Regions from separate parts of the Homo sapiens genome. Here region 2 is linked to region 1. The links are contacts of gene promoters, found by promoter capture Hi-C in human tissues and cell types (Jung and others, 2019). All regions are on one chromosome and are shown on one strand. The core of a region is centred on a gene start or on the middle of the fragment in contact, and the rest is flanking DNA. Distances in the headings are between cores, read along the strand shown.

Region 1 (4,102 bases), core at 781-3,280:
GTGATTCTCCTGCCTCAGCCTCCAGAGCAGTTGGGACTATAGGCATGCACCACCATCCCTAGCTAACTTCTGTATTTTTAGTAGAGACCGGGTTTCACCATGTTGGTCAGGCTGGTCTTGAACTTCTGACCTCAAGTGATCTGCCCACCTTGGCCTCCCAAGGTCCTGGGAATACAGGGCCTCTCTTTTTCAAATTCCCCGTGTTAGGAAGGAATTATTTAACTCCTCCGTGTCTTTGTCCTCCACAGGGCAAAAACACCTGGATCTTTCACAAAGCTCTGGTAGTGGCAGTGGCCTGGCATTGGAGCCCCATTAAATTCTTTGTCAAAAAGCATGAGACTGGGGGCCGGGCGCGGTGGCTCACGCCCATAGTCCCAACACTTTAGGAGGCTGAGGCGGGCAGATTGCTTGAGGTCAGGAGTTCAAGACCAGCCTTGCCAACTTGTTGAAGCCTGGTCTCTACTAAAAATACAAAAATTAGCTGGGTGTGGTGGCACACATGCCTGTAGTCCCAGCTACCAGGGAGGTTGAGGCTGCAGTGAGCCATGTCCGTGCCACTGCACTCCAGCCTGGGTAACAGAGTGAGACCCTGTCTCAAAAAAGGGAAAGAAAAAAAAAAAAAAGCATGAGACAGGCTCTGAGGCAAGGGAAACACCTTCCTTCCAGAGTTTCTCAGCTACCAAGCCCTCTGGTCCTTCCCTGAGCTTCACTGGGTAGAGAAGCTCAACAACAGATGAAGAAGTTTACCACGTCTAGACCCTGAAGGCAGTTCAAGCAAAAAGAAGCCTTCACTCACCTGTACATGGGCTGGCAGCAACCTCCTTGCCATTTCTCCCTCCCTGCTGCCTCTCTTGGAGAAGGCACCTGGAATGGAGAAAAAAGCTGTGAGGTCTTTTCATCCAGCCTGCATGCCCACCCTCATTAGGCCAGACCAGGTTAGAAGCCATAAGCTGAGCACCTGCAGAGAAGGAGCCTGGAACTGCCCAGGCCAGAGGGGCCCTAAGTCCGGCCACTTAAACCAGTGTGGGAAGCAGGTTCAGAGTCACCGGGCCTGCTACCTTTCTGCCAGTGCTTTACGATAAAGACGAAAGGAGCGAAGGGATGAAGACCATCTGCCGTGCCTTAACAGGGTCAAGGGCAGAATCAGGCAAGGCTCATTCAGATAAAGTAATAGGAAATGACACAATATTCCACACATCTGCACTTGGATGTTGTTCAATACGAAAAACAGCAGTTGAAGAACTGATGCTCTTTTTTAGGAACAGCCAACCAAAAATTAGTCCTCTTTTCTTCCTCTTGTAAGATTTACTTCCTTTATCAAAAACAGTTATCAAAGCTGCTTAAAGGTAGCGTTACCCATTCTCCCTGGCCCCAAAAAAACAAGGGCGCAAGAAAACAGCATCACTAGCTAGAAATTGATTTAAAATTTAGAGAAATGGGAAGAAACGTAGCAAGTGGACATGGTTACGGTAAATAAAAAAAGAAATAGTTAAATCACTCTAGGACTGGCTGTAGGAAAACACTGCCAAACGTGCAAGACTGCCAAAAACGAGTAAATCTAAAGTTTAAACTCCGGGAAACGGAGTAGGGGGAGGCTTAAACCCACAAACACTAAGAGCGAAAAACCGCCCGGAGGGCTCCGGACCCTGAACCGAGGCGGCATTTTGCAGTTTCTGTTCTGGAGCCGTTTCCCCCGGAGTCCGGCCCAGGCTGCGGCCCAGGAGTCCAGCGGCGTCGAAGCGCCCTCCCGGCCTCCGCCAGGCCCTTCCCAGGCCACGCCCCCTCCGGGGCCGGGTTCACCTGCCGAGGCCGCCCCGGCTCGGACGCCCGGAGCCGGGGACTCGGCAGACACGCGCAGAGGCCAGCCCTCGTCCTGGTCCCGCCGCGGCAGCCGCACGCCCCGGGCCCGCCCTCACCGGCAGCCTGTACCTGGGCCCGCCTCGGCGGGGGGCGCGCAGCTCCACACCGCACAAGAGGCGAGCGGAACACCTAATTCAGAGACGTTTCCCGTCGCTGCCGGGCGCAACTGCGCCTGCGCGCCGGAGAGCCGACGGGTTTCCCTGGCTGAACCGCAGCGTTTGTCCCTCCGGACTTCATTTCCCAGACGTCGCTGCGGCACCACCACTTACGGTGTCCGAGAGAGAACCACAGCGCCGAGAGCGGAGAACGCGGTCGGGCTGTGGAGTTCGAGAAGGCTGAAGCCGAGTCCCTCAGCTTGGGCTCCAACTACTCTCCCTCCGCTAAACCACCCATTGTATTCGTAATTAGAATGACAAAAATAGTAAGACGGAAAAGTGAGTATGAATTTTTAAATCTGGAAGACTAGCCGCTGCTGATTATTCGCAGGTGGTGACAGAACTATTACAGTCCATTCTGCGATTTTAATTAAAAATGAATTATGTCTAAATTTTATAATCTCGGCCGGGCGCGGTGGCTTATGCCTGTAATCGCAGCACTTTGGGAGGCCGAGGTGGGCGGATCACAAGGTCAGGAGACCGAGACCATCTTGGCCAACATGGTGCAACCCTGTCTCTACGAAAACACGAAAAATTAGTCGGGCGTGGTGGCACATGCCTGTAATCCCAGCTATTCGGGAGGCTGAGGCAGGAGAATCGCTTGAACCTGGGAGGCGAAGGTTGCGGTGAGCTCAGATCGCGCCATTGCACTCCAGCCTGGGTGACAGAGCAAGACTCTGTCTCAAATAAATAAATAAATAAATAAATAAATTTTTGTAATCTTTACATATTTACTGGCACTCAGAGTAAAACAAAAGCATAAGCCTAGTATTTCCCTCTTCATGGCACTCACTTCTTTTGAAGTGACTTCTTTAAAACGTAAAATAAAGCCCAACTCCCAGCGCTATCATCACAACTGCATCCTCGGTGACCGGCACTGTACACGCCAAATACTATGTGCTCAGAAAGTGTTGATTTTTAAAATATCAAACATTAGCGTTTACAGAGACAAACCTAAACACAAAGGGTACTTGAAGATAGAAAATGCAGAGAGGGACTAAGAGATATCAGGTAGATAATATGAAAAAGAAATCTTGGATCACGATGTTACAACAATACAAAGATTATTGCAATGTAAAAATAATTAAATCGAACAAAATGGATGTTTTATATTGTTAAAAGATAATAATGCACATCACTAATCATTAGGGGAATGCAGATCAAAGCAGATCAAACATCCACTGCGATTTCACACTCATTAGGTTGGCTATTATAAAATTTGGAAAAAAAAGAAAACCAGAAAACAATCCTTGTGCCTTAATGGTGGGAATGTAAAATGGTAGCGCTGCGCTGGAAAACGGTATGGCAGTTCCTCAAAAAAAAATTAAATGTAGAATTAACACATGGGCAATTCCATTTCTGGACCATATGTTATTTCTATATTTAATTATTATTTTAAAATAATAATAATAAAGATATGACAGTTATAGACCATTATTGACAAAACAACATAGCATTGAGATTTACAAAGTAAAAGGTGCCAGACTGAGTACCCATGATTACCTCCCTTTTTCTCTTCATATTCTTCAAAGTAACCCCAAACACATATAATTTTCAAAGGAGCAAATCTAATGCAACTCTAGAAAAATACCATCAGAACACCAGAAATTGAGGAAACATTTGGAAGACATGCAGGAGACAAGTGCTCTGATACCCAAAATCTAATAAAAAGATTCAGAAGAAAGCAGAGAAAATGGGGAGGGGGAATAATAACAGATTGATTACATACAGAAATAGTGATAGAGATATAGCAGAAAACACATTCAAGCTGAGGAAGCCCTGAGTCTTCAGAGTAAATAAAATGTAGGGAGTTTGGCATAATGAATGAGCTAGGGTAGGGATGGCCCATAAAAAATACATCCTCGATGAAATATCACAACTCTGAGGATAAATAGGAACCCCTAAAAGTGGCCAGAAAAGACGGAATAAAAGGTTGGCATGTGTTATTTGCTACAAGTCACAGAAGATGGAACTGCTCAAGTTGGCTGAAATGAATAAGGAATAGCAAGAAATCACTGGGGCAGACTCCGGCTAGAGAAGAATCGGTGGTTCTATGATGTCAGCAAAAACCAGGTTTTGGCCGGGGG
Region 2 (4,272 bases), core at 929-3,428, 540 kb before region 1:
GCCACTGCACTCCAGCCTGGGCTGGGCGATAGAGTGAGACTCTGTCTCAAAAAAAAAAAAAAAAAAAAAAAAAAAGAAAACCTAGAAAGTATTAAAAGGCATATACTTGTCTCCTTGTCCTCCACCTTCCCATCCCCCTCCCCTATACACTAATATAGTGTCCTCTGTTTAAGTTCATTTCCGAAACATGTTTCTACACATGAAAACAGGTACCAAATATAAATTATTTTTCTCTCTCTTTTTACAAAAAAATTTAACATATTTTACATGCAGTTCTCAACCTGATTATTTCGCTGAGTATCTGTCATCTTGAAAATCTTTCCATATCAGTACACAGAGGACTTTACTTTTTTTATAGCTTTAGTGTGTCATTATTGGACAGCACCATAATTTATTTAGCTGGGTTAAAAAAAACTAGGGTGGTTCTAATCTCCTGTTACCAATAACGACTGCAATAGATCATTCTGTACATGTGTCATTTTCATGTGTTACATGTGTAGGATAAAATGTATGTAAGGGGAATTGCTGGGTCAAAGTGCAGATGATTTTTTTTTCTTTTTTTTTTTGAGATGGAGTCTCACTTCACTCTGTCATCCAGGCAGGAGTGGTGGCGTGATCTCTGCTCACTGCAACCTCCACCTCCTGGGTTCAGGCAATTCTCCTGCCTCAGCCTATAGTCCCAGCTATTTGGGAGGCTGAGGTGGGAAAGATCACTTGAGCCTGGGAGGTGGAGCTTACAGTGAGCTGAGAGACTGCACCACCACTGCACTCCAGCCTAGGCGACAGAGAGACTGTCTTAAAAAAAAAAAAAAAAAAAAACAGCCAGGCACAGTGGTTCACACCTATAATCCCAGCACTTTGGGAGGCTGAGGCAGATGGATCACCTGAGGTCAGGAGTTGGAGACCAGCCTGGCCAATGTGGTGAAACCCCATCTCTACTAAAGATACAAAAATTACCTGGGCCTGGTGGCAGGCACCTGTAATCCCAGCTACTTGGGAGGCAGAGGCAGGAGAATCGCTGGAACCCAGGGGGTGGAGGTAGCAGTGAGCCGAGATCACGCCACTGCATTCCAGCCTGGGCAACAAGAGCGAAACTCTATCTCAAAAAAAAAAAAAAAAAGAAAACATCAGGACGCCGTCTGTGTAGGTGCTTTACTCTTGAGGGAGTGAGTGAGCTGGACAGGAAGGGTATGAGAAATTGTACCATATAAAGAACAACTGAAGACGCAGGGCAGTAGACTTGAGAGGCTCATGAAAAAGGTCATTAAGGCCGGGTGTGGTGGCTCACGCCTGTAATCCCAGCACTTTGGAAGACCGAGGCAGGTGGATTACCTGTGGTCAGGAGTTTGAGACTAGCCTGGCCAACATGGCAACACCCTGTCTCTACAAAAAATACAAAAATTAACTGGGTGTGGTGGCACGTGCCTGTAATCCCAGCTACTCAGGAGGCTGAGGCATGAGAATCGCTTGAACCTAGGAAGCGGAGGTTGCAGAGAGCTGAGATTGTGCCACTGCACTCCAGCCTGGGCAAGAGTGAGACTCCTTCTCAAAAAAAAAAAGGTCATGAAATAAACATTTGAAAGCTTGGCAGGTGCAAAAGGCTTTAAATATAAGCGATGTAGGCCGGGCAGGCAGAATTTGCATAGAGGGCTTAAATCTAATCTTGAGAAGAATGCACAGGGCTTGGCAGCAATGGAGTTTCATGGGATTTGGAGGGCTTCAAGGCATAACAGACCTGTGTCCTCTTCCTGCTCCATCACTCACCTGCCAAGGCACCTCGGGCAAGTTACTCAACCACTCTAAGTCTCAGTTCCCACACTTGTAGATGAGGACACTAACAGCTATCCTAGAGGATGGCTGTGGAGGATTAAATGAGATAAATGAGAAGGAATGTTCTCAGCACAATGCCTGTCATTGAGCAGGTCCTGAGGGCAGTGGCTATTATTATTATTATCTGAAAATGGAATAGGCAGGCTCCCTAGGAGAAGGGTCAAATAAACGCTCAACAGTCCAGTCCCGTCTGGGAAACTCTGCAGAGGGTTCTTTTGCATTGGCTCAAGGATCCCTAAGACCCTTTCTAGATGCCAAATTCCATGAAGATGACTTATTTGTGTTCTGGACTGTTTTTGATTTTGAGCCTAAGCATAGCGATCCCAAGGACAAATCCAGACATGGCAAATAATTCGTTAGTCCCACCCTAACAAATTACAAATGTCCTTGGGCCTGGAATCTACAATCTGGCCCAAAATGTATTATTCAGAAAACTGCCCACCTGTGTCTGAAGCAGTGATTCCAGGAGTGTACCAGTAGTTCCTTTTCCTCCTGTGAGTGCCCTTTGGTTGACAACACCTTTTCAACCTATTTGGCCTGTGTGGCAAGCAGGAATCACTGTCCCCATTTTAAAGAAAAGGAAACTGAGGCTCAGAGAGAGTCAAGTCTTGCTAGAGATCATGTGGATAATGAGCAGCAGAGCTCTTTCCAATTAGAAAGGGCTTCATCAGCAAGGAATTGAGAAATGAGTAAATATGAGGGAGTTTTTAAAATCATCAAATTGGCAGAACTACTTCTCACTCACTTTAATTCTGGAAGATTTCTGACACTAGTCGCTATATCTGATGCTTCTGGACAAAGTTTCTCCACCAGCTCCAAAGGACCAAAGAATGATTTATTTTGGCCAATAAAACTCTTCTTAACTAAAAGGAAAAACAAAAGTGTTATTCATAAGAACAGGTTGCAAAATTTCTTCAGGGACCCACAGCCTCTCCCCACAAAAGCCAAGTGGAAGTGAAAGCTGCTAAACTTCACTGCTTAATCCTTTTTTAAAAATCTTTTTTGAGATGGAGTCTTACTCTACTGCCCAGGCTAGAGTGCAGTGTGCAATCTCAGCTCACTACAACCTCTGCCTCCCGGGTTCAAGCAATTCTCTGCCTCAGCCTCCTGAGTAGCTGGGGTTACAGGTGCCCACAACGCCGGGCTAATTTTGTATTTTTAGTAGAGACGGGGTTTCACCATGTTGGCCAGGCTGGTCTTGAACTCCTGACCTTGTGATCTGCCCGCCTCGGCCTCCCAAAGTGCTGGGATAACAGGCGTGAGCCACAGCGCCCGGCCTGCTTAATCCTTCTTGATTTACTCTTGGGGACTGGGAGAGGCCATGTAATAAATTAGTCTCTCTTTCTCTGGCAACAGAGTTTCTCTGATATGCTTACTGTGCTCTTTCTGGAAGTATGTATTGCCCATAGAATAAAACAGGCGCCTCAGCCGGGCACAGTGGCTCACACCTGTAATCCCAGCACTTTGGGAGGCCGAGACGGGTGGATCACGAGGTCAGGAGATCGAGACCATCCTGGCTAACACGGTGAAACTCCGTCTCTACTAAAAATAAAAAAAAAATTAGCCGAGAGTGGTGGTGGGCGTCTGTAGTCCCAGCTACTCGGGAGGCTGAGGCAGGAGAATGGCGTGAACCTGGGAGGAGGAGCTTGCAGTGAGCCGAGATTGCACCACTGCACTCCAGCCTGGGGGACAGAGCGAGACTCTTCAAAAAAAAAAAAAAAAAAAAAAAAAGAAAGAAAAAAACAGTTGCCTTATAGGCTCATCTACTATGAAATTCTTCCCCCTTTTTTTCCTTGATGGCAAAATCAAGGATTTATTTTTTTTTGTTTTTTTCAGATCCTCATCATCTGTACTGCTGTAATTGGTCTTCCTGCTCCTAATACTGTCACCTCCCCACCATTACAATCTGTTCTCTACATAGCTAGAAATTCTTTTAAGAACTGAAGTTAGGACACATTTCTCCCTTTAGGATCTTCCAAAGACACTAAGAATAAAATGCAACTCCTCATCTGACCTTTAAGGACATATATGGTCCAGCCTCTCCCTACTCCCCTGACCTCATGTCCTCCCCTCCTCTCCCTCAGCACACTTAGCACACCTGTTACCTGGAGTCTTTCTCAAGCTGAGGAAGGTTGGTCCCACTCAGAACCTTTGCATCTGTTTTAATTAATTAATTAATTTATTTATTTATTTATTTTTGAGATGGAATCTCACCCTGTAGCCTTGGTTGGAGTGCAATGGTGCAATCTCAGCTCACTGCAACCTCCGCCTCCTGGGTTCAAGAGATTCTCCTGCCTCAGCCACTCGAGTAGCTGGGATTACAGGCATGCGCCACCACGCCCGGCTAATTTTTGTGTTGTTAGCAGAGGCAGGGTTTCACCATGTTGGCCAGGGTGGTCTCCAGCTCCTGAGCTCAAGCGATCCTTCCGTCTCGGCCTCCCA

The links. The method cuts DNA at HindIII sites, captures the fragments that hold promoters and counts their contacts. A contact is called where the count stands out against the background at its distance.
Region 2: a fragment that was not itself captured here is called in contact with the fragment with the promoter of ZNF879 in region 1 in 1 of the 25 tissues and cell types used here (dorsolateral prefrontal cortex).

The regions. Positions count from the first base shown.
Region 1 is chr5:179,021,732-179,025,833 of GRCh38, reverse strand. It overlaps ZNF879 (zinc finger protein 879), which reads right to left and starts at 2,030. Exons shown (of 5, transcript NM_001136116.3): 1 at 1,930-2,030; 2 at 797-864. The coding sequence starts at 829. RefSeq lists an enhancer at 1,901-2,402. The HindIII fragment of the contact is 17,237 bases long and covers 1-4,102 here.
Region 2 is chr5:179,560,968-179,565,239 of GRCh38, reverse strand. RUFY1 (RUN and FYVE domain containing 1) reads right to left here. Exons shown (of 18, transcript NM_025158.5): 3 at 2,576-2,693. All of the region lies in intron 4 of LOC128966623 (a long non-coding RNA gene), which reads right to left. Among named protein-coding and RNA genes, the nearest start is that of RUFY1, 13 kb to the right of the region's middle. The HindIII fragment of the contact is 4,656 bases long and covers 1-4,272 here.